2 separate regions of the Homo sapiens genome follow, and region 1 is linked to region 2. The links are contacts of gene promoters, found by promoter capture Hi-C in human tissues and cell types (Jung and others, 2019). All regions are on one chromosome and are shown on one strand. The core of a region is centred on a gene start or on the middle of the fragment in contact, and the rest is flanking DNA. Distances in the headings are between cores, read along the strand shown.

What was found. The method cuts DNA at HindIII sites, captures the fragments that hold promoters and counts their contacts. A contact is called where the count stands out against the background at its distance.
Region 1: a fragment that was not itself captured here is called in contact with the fragment with the promoter of INPP5K in region 2 in 3 of the 25 tissues and cell types used here (dorsolateral prefrontal cortex, spleen and thymus).

What each region holds. Positions count from the first base shown.
Region 1 is chr17:1,188,940-1,196,494 of GRCh38, forward strand. ABR-AS1 (ABR antisense RNA 1) reads left to right here. Exons shown (of 3, transcript NR_187271.1): 3 at 776-1,422. It also overlaps a transcript of ABR not described here. Among named protein-coding and RNA genes, the nearest start is that of ABR-AS1, 11 kb to the left of the region's middle. The HindIII fragment of the contact is 6,525 bases long and covers 2,939-7,555 here.
Region 2 is chr17:1,513,057-1,520,164 of GRCh38, forward strand. INPP5K (inositol polyphosphate-5-phosphatase K) reads right to left here and starts at 3,556. Exons shown (of 12, transcript NM_016532.4): 1 at 3,400-3,556; 2 at 816-923; 3 at 397-505. The coding sequence starts at 3,443. PITPNA (phosphatidylinositol transfer protein alpha) reads right to left here. Exons shown (of 12, transcript NM_006224.4): 12 at 4,662-7,108. PITPNA-AS1 (PITPNA antisense RNA 1) reads left to right here and starts at 3,863. Exons shown (of 2, transcript NR_028514.1): 1 at 3,863-4,037; 2 at 4,662-5,040. RefSeq lists a silencer at 3,642-3,941. The HindIII fragment of the contact is 13,245 bases long and covers 1-7,108 here.

The DNA.
Region 1 (7,555 bases), core at 4,951-7,450, 320 kb before region 2:
CCCAGGACATGCAAATTTTCCATAAAGCACTTTCGGGTTCTGATCGTGAAACCTCGTGACTCCTAATTTCCTCTTCCCCAAGCTCTTGGCACCTTGTCCTGAGCTGGTCAGCTCAGTCTCATGAACACACAGTCCGGTGCCAGGAGCTGGCACGAGAAACTAGCACACATGACTCGTGTTCTCCCGAAAGGAGAGTGAAGAAGGGTGAGACTCCGGCCACAGTGGCCACGTTTTGGCTGGGTCCGTTGGTTGGAGCAGTCCCAGGCTCACGAGACTGACATCAAAGATATGAAGATCAATTAGAGGAAAGAGTTTCCCAGTGTCTAACAGCAACTGAAGGCTTGCTCTAAGACATCCTAAAACACATGTAGCATGTCATTCCTCTCTTACTAAGACCTGTCTATGGCTTCCTTTTTTTTTTTTTTTTTAGACAGAGTCTCGTTCTTGTCCCCCAGGCTGGAGTGCAATGGTGCAATCTCGGCTCACTGAAACCTCCGCCTCCGAGTTCAAGTGATTCTCCCGCCTCAGTCTCCCGAGTCACTGCTGTCGGGATAGAGACCCGCACATCCTTTTGGTGGCCTAAGGAACCTGTGGCCGGGCCTCTGCACCCCTTTCAGCTTCATCTGGCACATTCTGCTCCTTGCTCTCTTCTACTTTTTCCTGCCTTGGAACTTTTGCATAGGTTGACATCGCTGGCAAAAACGCTCTACCCCCACTCTGCCTGGGTAACTCCTACTCTCCCTTCTGGTCTTAACTTAAGTATCTTGTCTTCCAGGGAGCTTTCCCGACCCACCAGACCAGGAAGGCCTGCGTCGTTCCCTGCTTCTGAATGCTCAGGACTCTTGTAAACGTTCAATGCCTGTCTCTCCTGCTAGACTGAGGTCTCTTGGAGGATAGGAACCACATCTGTTATTCACTGTAACCCCAGGACCTTGCACAAATAGTTTCAGTGAATGAATGAGCAAGTGTGAATGAATGAATGACCAAGCATATTCCTGGTCACAAAGAGCCTGGAATGAGGCAGTACAGGTGTTCCACCCAGCCCACCTCCACCAGCTGGAAAAGAACTGTTTGGCTGGTTGAGACGTCGCGTCGAGAATGACCACCCTCTCTGGAAAGATGCAAAGAAAGAACAAATGGCCCCTAGGATGGGATTTGGGGTGGGAGAATTGCTGTTCCAATTAATTCTCTAACTGCTCACAAAAAACCCTAACTGAAAATTCCCCAGTGCACAGGGTTCCCTTGTTCAGCAGCCAGTATTGGAGGCTGTACTCCTTTCTATCCAATCAGGCTCCAACATGGAAACGGCATAGAAACCCAGAAATGGTTCAGCCCACTAAGGGAACTTCGGTCTCAGTTCTCAGAGTCCTTCTCCGAGGCCTGTCCCAAATTTGCAATAAAACTTGTTTTTAGGCCAGGCACGGTGGCTCACGCCTGTAATCCCAGCACTTTGGGAGGCCGAGGCGGGTGGATCACCTGAGGTCAGGAGTTCGAGACCAGCCTGGCCAACAAGGTGAAACCCCGTCTCTACTAAAATTACAAAAATTAGCCAGGCGTGGTGGTGGGTGCCTGTAATCCCACCTACTCAGGAGACTGAGGCAGGAGAATCGCTTGAACCCAGAAGGCGGAAGTGGAGGTTGCAGTGAGCTGAGATCGTGCCACTGCACTCCAGCCTGGGCAAGAGAGTGAGGCTCCATCTCAAAAAAACACACACAAAAAAACTTATGTTTCGGGGAGGGAGGTAAACAGTAGCTCTTCCCTGGGAAGAAAGCAGTTTCTAGGTGGGTGCCCGTCCCGTCTGCTCTCGCCGTCTGCTGGGATTCCGAGAAAGAAGATGCTGGTTGCTCACGGTATGCTCAACCCCTCTGCCCCACGGCGCTGCAGGCGAAGCTGTGAGTCACCAGCTCCCAGGAATGACTTTGATGAACCTCCAACCAGACAGATGGAAAATCTGGCTTTCAGTTCAATGATGGGAGAAATATGATAGAAATGGATTCTGGGCCCTCACGCTCCCAAGGGGCTGGCCTGAGCGAGTCTGCAGGGCCTGACAGACAGGGCTTGGGCACGACTTCTGCGGCTGCAGATTGCGCTGGGCCATGGTAACCACCACGCCGGCCCGAGGGCGCTATACAGTGCGACACCAGACTCCAGGTCTGCTGGGGGCCTGTGCCCAGGGGAGAGGCTCCTTTCCATGTTCCCGTCACCAAAACAAAGAAATAAACAAAACAACCAATGTCAAATCAAGATCCGGTTCTCGGGCCTCGAGTTTGTAAAGATCCAGAAAGCCACCCCAGCAGACGGCGGTTGGTCTGCCAGCTTCCCGCCAGCCTCCCGCCAAGCTTCCTGCCAGCTTCTCACCAGCTTCTCACCCCCGCCTAGTAACGATGTTCTGGATGTTCCAGCATTTTTCTTTTCTTTTTTTTTTTTTTTTTTTTTGAGACAGAGTCTCCCTCTGTTGCCCAGGCTGGAGTGCAGTGGCGCAATCTCAGCTCACTGCAACCTCCACCTCCCGGGTTCAAGCGATTCTCCTGTCTCAGCCTCCCGAGTAGCTGGGACTACAGGCGCCCGCCACCATGCCCAGCAATTTTGTATTTTTAGTAGAAACGGGGTTTCTCCATGTTGGTCAGGCTGGTCTCGAACTCCTGACCTCAGGTGATCCACCTGCCTTGGCCTCCCAAAGTGCTGGGACTCCAGGCGTGAGCACCTGGCCTGTTCTGACATATTCAATAGTGTCAGGGTTCTTCTGTCTCCTGAAATGAGGGGCCTGTTGAAAGCAGTAGGGGTGTGGAAGAAGAACAGAGGGTAACATAGAAACGAGGCAGCAAACACTTGCACCTGCTACCTGCGCCCAGGCTGCCGTCAGGACTCTGCATGTATTAAATCACTTCATTGTCACCGTGCCACACGACCGCTCCAGGAGCCACACATGAGCCCCTCAACACTCTGCTGCCTTTCTCCAACAGGAGGGAAAGAGCGCTCGACCGAGCACAGCCTGAATCCAGCTGCTGGTTCTGCCACTAACTTGCTGTGTGACTCTGAAGAACTGCCTTTCCCTGTCTGTCCCTTGATGTTCTCACCTCGACACGAAGAGATGTAAGTCCCAGGCAGTAGCTGATAAAGGAAGGGGGAAACTTTCCTGTTTCCCGCCCTTCAGTTCCTATATTCCAGGAAGTTTAATGGGTTTTCAGGGCTAGAAAAGTTATTATTATTATTATTTTGTAGAGCCAGAGTCTCACTATGTTACCCAGGCTGGTCTCGAACTCGTAGGCTCAAGCAATCCTCCTGCCTCATCCTCCCAAAGTGCTGGGATTACAGGCATGAGCCACGGCGCCCTGCAGAAAAGTTACTTATTATTTCACTGAATATTCCCTGAGCCCTACTGTATAAACCAGAGTTCCTTTTCCCAGGCTGCTTATGATAATAGACTTCAGACATGCCCAGAAATCACAGAGAGGGAAAGACAGACAGTGGTCTGGACAGTGAGTTATGGAGGGGGCAGGAGGGAGGTACCACTTCAAACTGAGCTGATGACTAAAAGCTTCTAGAAAGAATGTGAGCTGGGCACGGGGGCTCACACCTGTAATCCCAGCATTCTGGGAGGCCGAGGTGGGCGGATCACCTGAGGCCACGAGTTCAAGACCAGCCTGGCCAACATGGTGAAATCCCGTCTCTGCTAAAAATACAAAAAATTAGCTGGGCATGGTGGAAGGCACCTGTAATTCCAGCACTTTGGGAGGCCGAGGCAGGAGGATCACCCGAGGCCACGAGTTCAAGACCAGCCTGGCCAACATGGTGAAACCCCGTCTCTACTAAAAATACAAAAAAATAGCTGGGCGTGGTGGAAGGCACCTATAATCCCAGCACTTTGGGAGGCTGAGGCAGGTGGATCACCTGAGGTTGGGAGTTTGAGAGCAGCCTGACCAATATGGTGAAACCCCCTCTCTACTAAAAATAGAAAATTAGTGGGGTGTGGTGGCGGGCGCCTGTAATCCCAGCTACTGGGGAGGCTGAGGCAGGAGAATCCCTTGAACCCAGGAGGCGGAGGCTGTAGTGAGCCGAGATTGCGCCATTGCACTCCAGCCTGAGCAAAAAGAGCGAAACTCTATCTCAAAACAAAAAACAAAACAAAACAAAAACTTGCACAGAGGCAGACGTGGAAATGGAGCGAAGAGCTAGAATGGATGACTGTGGAGAAGGTTCTTTTGGGAACTGGGGGCGAATATAGAAACTGCTACTAATCTAACGTGTGGCCTCAGCATGAATTCAGGAAAACAACAGAATTAGCAGCTTTTCTTAGATCCACCTTATAGAGAAGCCTTTCTGGGACACCCCCTCCCCCTCAATACCCACAAGGATTCAGGACTCCCCCGCTCTCCCGGCGAGTTTGCTGAACGCCCTTCGGCCGACGTGTCCCGAGCATCGCCAGTATTTACGTTCTAGGCACCCTGTTAAGCACGTAACCTTCACTCTTCGCAAGCAGCCTCTCTATGTGGAAGCCACAGTCACCACGCCCGCTTTACAGAAGAGGCTCAAGTTCACACTGCTAGTGAGTGACAGAGCCAAGTTCTCACTCGGGTCTGGCTCGGTCCAGAGCAATTGTACCTGGCCACCAGTCCTGAAGCTTCAGGAAAGCATCCTGACCAGATGCCGCCCGACATTCACTCAGGAAGAGCTCGGTTTCCAGCACGCCAGGGAGTACTGGCAACTGACGCTAATTCAAGCACATCAGTGCAGCCCTTTTTGTTTGTGTGTTTTTATGTTTGAGATAGAGTCTCCCTCTGTCCCCCAGGCTGGAGTGTGGAGTGCAGTGGCACAATCTCGGCTCACTGCATCCTCCGCCTCCCAGGTTGAAGCGATTCACCTGCCTCAGCCTCCTGAATAACTGGGACTACAGGCACCCGCCACCACGCCCAGCTAATTTTTTTTTTGTATTTTTAATAGAGACGGGGTTTCACCGTGTTAGCCAGGATGGTTTTGATCTCCTGACCTCGTGATCTGCCCACCTTGGCCTCTCAAAGTGCTGGGATAACAGGCGTGAGCCCCGCGCCTGGCCACTGCAGCTCTTAAAGCTTACTCTCCAGGGGAAGTGGCAGAGGAAGGAAGACACAAAGATGAATTTCCATCCTCTTTCTCCTCTACTGAAATCTGACAAGCTCCTGGGTCTTTTGATTTCTCCTTGAACATGAGGTTTGTACCTGGAGGATCTCTGGTGGCAAGGGTGTTTCCTTTGTTTTTTTTTATTTATTTATATTTTGATTGATTGATTGAGACAGAGTCTCTCTCTGTCGCCCAGGCTGGAGTGCAATGGCACGATCTTGGCTCACTGCAACCTCCGCCTCCCGGGTTCAAGTAATTCTCTTGCCTCAGCCTCCCAAGTAGCTAAGATTACAGGTACACGCCACCACGCCCAGCTATTTTTTTGTTTTGTTTTGTATTTTTAGTAGAGAGGGGTTTCACCATGTTGGCCATGCTGGTCTCAACTCCTGACCTCAGGTGATCTGCCTGCCTCGTCTTCCCAAAGTGCTGGGATTACAGGTGTGAGACACTTCGCCCAGCCTTCTTTATTTTTTAGAGACAAGTCTCACTCTATCGCCCAGACTGGAGTGTAGTGGTGCAATCATAGCTCACTACAGTCTCGACCTCCCAGGCTCAAGCCATCCCCCTGCCTCAACTTCTTGCATAGCTAGGACTACAGGCATGCACCACCACACCCAGCTAATTTTTTTTTTTTTAAGATGGAGTCTCGCTCTGTTGCCCAGGCTGGAGTGCAGTGGTGCGGTCTCAGCTCACTGCAACCTCCACCTCCCGGGTTCAAGCAATCCTCCTGCCTCAGCCCCCCTAGTAGCTGGGATTACAGGCATGTGCCACCATGCCCTAAAAATTTTGTATTTTTAGTAGAGACAGGGTTTCGCCATGTTGGCCAGACTGGTCTCGAACTCCTGACTCAGGTGATTCACCCACCTCGGCCTCCTAAAGTGCTGGAATTACAGGTGTGAGCCACCGCGCCCGACCCTAATTTTTTTTTTAATTTTGTACAGACAGAACCTCACTATGTTGCCCAGGCTGCTCTTGAAGTCCTGGCCTCAGGCCAGGCGCGGTGGCTCACGCCTGTAATCCCAGCACTTTGGGAGGCCGAGGCGGGCGGATCACGAGGTCAGGAGATCGAGACCATCCTGGCTAACACGGTGAAACCCCGTCTCTACTAAAAATACAAAAAATTAGCCGGGCGCAGTGGCGGGCGCCTGTAGTCCCAGCTACTCGGGAGGCTGAGGCAGGAGAATGGCGTGAACCCGGAAGGCGGAGCTTGCAGTGAGCGGAGATCGCGCCACAGCACTCCAGCCTGGGCGACAGAATGAGACTGTCTCAAAAAAAAAAAAAAGTCCTGGCCTCAAAGGATCCTCCCACCTTGGCCTCTCCAAGTGCTGGGATTACAGGCGTGAGCCATCAGGCCCGGCCCTTAAGGGTGTTTTCTACTGCTACAGTGATTAACTAGTCTCTGGTGTATCTCTCTCCCAAAGGCAGCCCCCAGCCCTGCCTGACCCAGGCTCAGCAAGTAGCGTAAGGAGCATTTTAAAGAAAATTATTGGCTGGGCAGTGGCTCACGCCTGTCATCCCAGCACTGTGGGAGGCCGAGGCGGGTGGATCACGAGGTCAGGAGATCGAGACCATCCTGGCTAACACGGTGAAACCCCGTCTCTACTAAAAATACAACAAATTAGCCGGGCGTGGTGGTGGGCGCCTGTAGTCCCAGCTACACAGGAGGCTGAGGCAGGAGAATGGTGTGAACCCGGGAGGCAAAGGTTGCAGTGAGCCGAGATCGTGTCACTGCACTCCAGCCTGCGCAACAGAGCGAGACTCTGTCTCAAAAAAAAAAAATTATTGGCCGGCGCGGTGGCTCACGCCTGTAATCCCAGAACTTTGGGAAGGCAAGTTGGGATTGTGGGGAGAGATCACTTGAGGTCAGGGATCACTTGAGGTCAGGAGTGCGAGACGAGCCTGGGCAACATGGCAAAACCCCATCTCTACTAAAAATACAAAAATTAGCCAGGCATGGTAGCAGGTGCCTGTAATCCCAGGTACTCAGGTGGCTGAGGCACGAGGATCGCTTGAACCAAGAAGGAGAAGGTTGCAGTGAGCCGAGATCACGACACTGCACTCCAGCCTGAGCAACAGAGCGAGATTCTGTCTCAAAAAAAAAAAAAAAAATAGGCAAGGTGCGGTGGCTCACGCCTATAATCCCGGCACTTTGGGAGGCCGAGGCAGGCGGATCACCTGAGGTCAGGAGTTCAAGACCAGCCTGGCCAACATGGCGAAACCCTCTTTCTACTACAAATACAAAAATTAGCTGGGCATGGTGGCACGTGCCTGTAATCCCAGCTACTCGGGAGGCTGAGGCAGGAGAATCACTTGAACCCAGGAGGTGGAGGTCACAGTGAGCTGACATCACACCACTGCACTCCAGCCTGGGTGACAAGAGTGAAAACTCTGGCCCAAAAAACAAATTAATTAATTAAATTTAATTTAGAAAAGATTTCTTAGCTAACTTCTCAGAGGA
Region 2 (7,108 bases), core at 2,306-4,805:
ACTTATGATGTGTAACAACAAGTAAGCACTTGATAAATGACAGCCGTATGATTACACTCAGAGACTTCAGGATGGGCATTTGAGTAGAGACTGGTGGCTGGGGCAGCGGCCAGCACTGAGGTGATGACAAGCCCTGCTGCACCTCCCCTCAGAATCTTCCCAAGCTGAAACATATCCAGGTGTTAACCCAACCCCTGGAGACTCCAGCTCCCTCAGAAAGGCGAAGGCAGGCAGGGGCCCCGGGGTCCAGGTGGAAGGGAGGTTTAGCCCTTTAAACAAATGGGAAACAGCATGAAAGGCTGAGCAGGAGTAAGAGGAACACATCAGACCCAACAAGCAGGGGTCAGTGGAGATGTGAAAACACAGTTGTCAAGTGCCAATGAACTGGCAAGTTACCTTGATGAAGCTCAGAGGGGAAAGCACATCCATGAGGAAACTGCTCCACGAGTCATTAAAGGCAGCATCGGAAAGGAGGCTTATGATCCCAGAGTTCAATTCCTGCAAACTGACCATGCCAGCTCAGAGGCTTGGCCCCTGGCCTCCAGGCTACTTCCCCTGCCACAGATATTTGATACCATCTTCACGGACTTTCAAGGCCTGAGTTCTGATGGCCATGAGGTCTCCCTCCCCTGCCTGCTGATCTCCAGCCCCCTTTGCCGTTGCTGACCCGGGACCAGAGACATGGGACTGTCCCTGAAGCAGGCTGAAAGCTCCCAGCCTTCAGACTCCAGAGCGGAGGAGGGCAGGTCACAGTGCTTCCCACAGGGAAACCTGGGACTGGTCAGGGATGGGCGAAGGAGCCTGCAGATACCTACCCAATAACATATATGTCAAGATTGAGGTTCCGGTTGTTCAGCTGAAGCAGGTCACTGAGATCTAGAGGGGGCGCTGCCGAAGCCACGTTCCAAGTCACGACGTGTATGCTGCGGAAGGGATGCAGAGGGAAGTCATGGAGGAAGGAGGATAAGATAGTGCACGGGGTCGGCTGGGCGCAGAGGCTCACACGTTGTCATCACAGCACTTTGGGCGGCCGAGGTGGGCGGATCACCTGAGGTCGGGAGTTCGAGACAAGCCTGGCCAACATGGTGAAACCCCGTCTCTACTAAAAGTACAAAAATTAGCCCAGCATGGTGGCAGGCGCCTGTAATCCCAGCTACTCTGGAGGCTGAGGCAGGAGAATTGCTTGAACCCACGAGGCAGAGGTTGCAGTGAGCCGACATTGTGCCACTGCACTCCAGCCTGGGTGACAGAGTGAGACTCTGTCTCAAAAGAAAAAAAAAAAAGATAGTGCACGGGGTCTAGGCCTGCTTATGTCACTGCAATCTGCCACACTCATGATGGGAAATGTGGGTTTCTGTGCTGGTGGAGGGAATGGGGATACTGAACCATCAGCTGTCCGTCCTCACCTTTCTCTGCTGAAGCAAGAAATCCCCACCCCGGACTGGGTCCTCCATGCTGGCTCACAGCCACCCACACCCGGCAGCACTGGTGCTGCTGATATAGCAGAGTCGCCAAAGGGAGCCCAAGAATTTCAGGTCAGGCTAGCGAAGGGTTAGGGGGCTGAACTGCCAGGAATGTATTAATTCCATCAGCTCCTCCAGCCACCCACACCCCTCTGTCATCATCTATGGCTCAGTCGGCAACTTCTGATCCCTACTTCTCACCCCAAGTGTTCCTAAGACCACCAGGAAGATCCTAGGGATTCAGATTTCACCTTGTGATAGGCCTCAGCACTACAAGGGCAGAGGAATTTAAAAAATAAAAGAGATAACACCACCATATTCCCTTCCTCTCTCCTCCCTAGCAGATCCCTGGAGCAAGCCAATTTTGCCAAGCACTTCAGCGAGACTTTTTTTTTTTTTTTTTTTGAGACTGAGTCTCACTCTGTTGCCCAGGCTGGAGTGGACTGGGATGATCTCGGCTCATCGCAGCCTCCGCCTCCCAGGTTCCAGCAGTTCTCCTGCCTCAACCTCCCAAGTAGCTGGGATTACAGGTGTGTGCCACCACATCTGGCTAACTTTTGTATTTTTAGTAGAGACGGGGTTTCACCATGTTGGCCAGGCTGGTCCTGAACTCCTGATCTCTCAGGTGATCCGCCCGCCTCAGCCTCCCAAAGTGCTGGGATTACAGGCCTGAGCCACCGCGCCCGGCCAAGGAGTTTTTAAGTAACAGGTTTCTCGACATCTCTCTTAAGAGTCTATGCTCTATGTCTGCGTAGTATTCCGTGAAAAATAAAGAGTACTCTCTGGGGAAAAGTCATCAGTTGGATATTTTCCACCTCAGCTTACAAGTCTTAGGGAAGCAAGAAAACTAGATAAGGGGCCTCAATGACACTGGATCCAGTCAGAGGCTCAGGAAAGAGAGACCTACAGATGTCTTTAGTGGAACAGTCAGTCACAGCAGCTCTTCAAGAAGCCTCAGACTGTGCGGAGCACAGAGCGGGCAGGAGCTACAGACCCTGCAGAGACCAGGAACAGCCTAGCATGAGTCCTAGGCACACGATGAGGAGTACCTGCAGCAGCTGGAGATCTGGAATGGCAGAGGGTACAGGGGGATGGGAGAAAAGGGCAGTTAATGCCAAAACATCTCTCCTCCAACAGACCCCGTCCTTAGAGGTCGACGTTCTCAAAAGCACTTCAAGAAATTCTTGGCCAGTTTAAAGCAACTTCCTGTCCCTCCCTGTTAGCATAAACAACACTATACAGAAACCACCTTCCCAGGCACTCGGCCTGAGATTTTGAGCTTCATTTGTTTACGATCTCCCCCTGCTGTCCGACAGAGGCTTAAGGAACAAAGACCTTTTACTCAGAGACTTCTTTTCCCAGACTCACTCTAAGAGGATGGAGAGCAAAAGTCCGGATTTCTTGTTCCCACTCTCAAATCCGACGATTAGCAGCAAATCCAAGCATCGTGACTTAGACTAAGTGGGCGATTAGCGTTGTTCCCCGTGAAAGAGCAGGCAAGAGACCAGGCTAAGTCACTTCCCTAAAGGATCTTATCTCAATCTGATTTCGGATTCCCGGGGTTCACCATGGGATCAGGCAGACCTCCTGATGTATGTGCTGATGAAAAGTAGGAAAAAGATTTCTAACCGAGAGCCGAAGGGTGACGGCCTCGTTATGTCTTTAACCTCAAACAACCCCACACGGCTGTCCTCTCCAGAAAGCAACCGGGACACCTGCTGCGCCCCAGTGGGAACGAGCTTGGCGGCCTCGGCTTAGAGGGGGCGCGAGGCTCGGGCCCAACACAGCCCACCTGACACAGGCGTGGGAGAAGGCGAGAGCGCCTCTGAACCAAAGGCAGTCATGGAGGTCTGGTGCCTTGTCCACCCCCAGCCCGCAGCCCAAGGGGCGCCGATCCCCCCGAGCAGGCCTGCCTCTGCCGCCAGGGTGCCCTCACCTGAGCCTCCTGCCTTTCGGCCCGCTCAGCTTCCGCGAGCTCATGGCCGCCGTCGTCCCCGCGCGGTGGTCCGGCAGGTTCGCGTCTCCCGGCCAGCGGGTCCCGGCCAGAGCAGCCCTGCGGGCGGCCGGTCTCACGCGCCTAGCTGTCGCGGACTGTTTTTCTTCCGGACTCCGACCGTCCGCCCCGGCTTCCGTCAGAGACGCGCCCTCCGCGCACCCCGGGATCTGGGTGGTGCGGTTCGCAGAAGGAGGCGGGACTCTCCCACGAGCGCAAAGCTGCGAGAGGCTGAGCGAAGACGGGTTCGCGGACGTAAGAGGGGCGTGTCGGGCCTGTCATCAGCGCACGCGCAACACTGCCCCAGACGACGCGAGGTGTGCGGCCGCCACTAGACCCGGCCCAGCCCGCGCCCGCCGTCCGCAGCTCCCAGCGTGCCCCGCGCCAGGGGCCGTCTTCCGGCGGAAGTTGTCTCTTCGCCGCCGCCGCAGCCTCTGCCCCACTCGTGAGGGATCCGAGGGCTCCGTCCTTGTGCTGTCTTCGCCCCGGCTCCCAGGGGTCAAACGAGGGTCGGGGGTGGGGACACGCAGCCTAGCCACTGTCCTGCCTGGGATCCGGTCTCCCCCGCCCCCCGGCTGCAGGTAATCTCCCCATTCCTGCTACTGCGGGAGCGCCTCCGTTCTCCACGCCCACTTTCAGGCTTCTACTCCAAACTTATTGGATTACCTATTGCATATGGGACGTTTGGGGATTCCTGGACTCCTACAGAATTAGCCGTCAATAAATGAAACGTAGGCCGGGGCGCGGTGGCTCAATGCCTGTAATCCCAGCACTTTGGGAGGCCGAGGCGGGCGGCTCACTTGAGGTCAGGAGTTTAAGACCAGCCTGGCCTTAACATGGTGAAACCCCGTCTCTGCTAAAAACACAAAAGCTAGCTGGGCTTGATAGCGCGCGCCTGTTAATCCCAGCTACTCGGGAGGCTGAGGCAGGAGAATCGCCTGAACCCGGGAGGTGGAGGTTGCAGTGAGCCGAGATTGCGCCACTGCACCCCAGCCTGCGCGACAGAGCGAGACTTCGTTTCAAAAAAAAAAAATAATAATAATAATTAGCCGAGATGGGGTTTCGCCATGTTGGTCAGGCTGGTCTCGAACTCCTGACCTCAGCTGATCCACCCGCCTCGGCCTCCCAGAGTGCTGCGATTTCAGGTGTGAGCCACCGCGCCCGGCCTAAAACTACTTTAAATAAATGTTTTGCTTGTTTGGTAGGGTGGATAAAGAGGAAGATGTGAAGAGGAGGCAGACAAAAGCAAAAGGACATCCTGTCAGTAGGAAACGGCCGAATTACAATTCAGATGTGCAATGTTTGCATAAGTAAACTGACACGGGACTATTATATGCAGAAATCCACGTGCAAAAATTTTCAGACACACCTTTGTACCTCTTCCTAATCCTGCCCTGGTAAAATGGCGGTTATCAGTGCAAGTTTGAGGATACATACAGCTGGAAAATGGACATCACCAAACTGGACTCCAGAAAGTTCTGTCTAGGATTTTATTAGACTGCTTTTTTTCTCAATATACCTGTATTGGAAGATTGAGACAAAAAGGCACAAACTCACATTAAATAAACAAGGTAATCTAATCAATTCTACAAAGTGTAGTTTGTAAAACAAGTAGCACTAGGAACCAACCAAAGTAAGTCAGGGAGTCCCAGCAGGGACTGTAAAAGAACTTGGGAAGCTATACACATGCCCACGATACTGACCCTGTCCCGGACCTCTCTGCATGAGAAGGCCAGAGCCCAGCACCCCTCCTACAGAGGCACTGCTGCTTCTGTTGGGGCTGTGACCCTGGAATTCTGATGGAAGCAGCTGGTCTGAAGGGGCATGGCACACACTCAGGTACTACCCCTGGAGCTGAACCTTTATCATAAGTCCCTCTGAGTGCTAGTCAGTTTGGAGGTGGGTGAGGAGGAAAGGGGGTACTTAAAAGAAGCCAACACTGTTGCCCAGCAGCAACACCATCCGTGGGGATGGAACAGACCAGGGACATCCTCCTTTATGTTTATGTGGGCTGCAATTCCAGATCCAGGCTGACCTCAGCTCATAATGGATGCTTTTCAACTGGGGCAACAGGTGGAGGTGGGAGGAGCCCTTGTTAGGGCTAAAGTGATATGTGTGGGTCTCAAGAGCCAAAGGAAGGAGACTAACAGCTGCTGACCCTCAGACCACATAGACAACTGTCTGCCTAGAATGTCAGTTTGTTTCTTTCAAGATAACCCGCATCTGGACTTCCCCTAGTTGATGAATGAAGGAACATCTTTAAGCACAAATATAATGAATAGCTAACACAGAGCTTATAGGAAAACACTGACATTTTTCTCCAGTAGGAATGCCTCTTCTCCAACTTTCCAAGTCAGATAAATGCTACCAGCAGTTGAGATGCTACCCAGATGCATTACTAAAGACCCCTCAAGGTGAGGAGACTTACACAGAGGAAGGTGTCTGTAACAAGACATCTGGTTCCAAAGGGACCTCAATGAAGGTCAGCGCTAACCATGCTGGGGGTCTGAGTCTGTCCACCCTTGCCCCAGGAGGGCCACAGGGAAGCATCCATCAGGATGTCACAGGTGCAATCCTGTGAGACACTCCCTTATTGCACTTAGAAATGAGTAAGGCAAACAAACTGACAAAAACAGGATACATTCTCCCACCCACTTCTTGCTTCCCGGACAAAGATTTGGTCTCCCATTAGCAGATGCACCCAGGCTAGTGTGGGCTGGGATCACGGCACACTTAGGCCAACGTGCTTCACAAGGTTTGGGGAATGTCAGGTGACACTACAGCTCTCTCTCATTCTCCCACTAAGAGGCAAACTCAGGCTCTGTCAAGTTGCAGGAAGCTATGAACACTGGGCAGCGTCTGTTCCCCTGGAGCCTGGACTTCCTCACCAGCCTACTTTGGTCGGGTTCTGTACTATGATCACTACTTGCTTTGGGTTTTCCAGGGCAGAACTCAACATGGGGGTAGGACGAGCTAAGTTCTTGATCCCCAAATTCCTTTCCGGCAACTGGAGACGAGGGAACATGTTCTGCTGGAAAAAGCTTTTTGCATGCTCATATTGTGCAGCATGAAAGATCAGGACTCTTGCTTCCTAACCAGCCTCAAAGACAGAGGACAGGGACCTAAGAAAGCACAGAGAAAAGAGGATTATTGCTGAGTGGCAGCACCAGCCCCAAAGGGAAGAGGAGGAGCAGGGACTTACAGAGCTCCTCGGGGTCAGACAGTTGGTATCTAGGGGGTGACTCAATTCTAGGGGCCACACTGGACAATTCCCTCCAAGTGGAGAGTTGACTGGGGCGATTTTGTAGACTGCAGAGAGATTCAGAGCGGGCAACAGGAGGGCCAAGAAGCCACAGGTGTTTCTAAGAGTAGTAACTAGAGATTCAGTGATTGGGACAGGGTTACTCGTATTTGTTAAATTTTCTTAAATAGAGACTGGCTGAGCCTTGGGTACCTCCATAGTGCTAGAGTGCCCTAACGATGGGTTACTGGGAGCAGAAGTCAGAGCTGCAAAACCACATTGCTATTTTGTGGAAGCGGTGCGGGGCAGGGAAACATTGTATCTTTAGCTCATCCCCGCTCCCCACAGGAGCACTCAAAATTGCGAAGATCTTCCCAGGAAGCAAAATACCTCAGTTTACCCCAAGGTTGA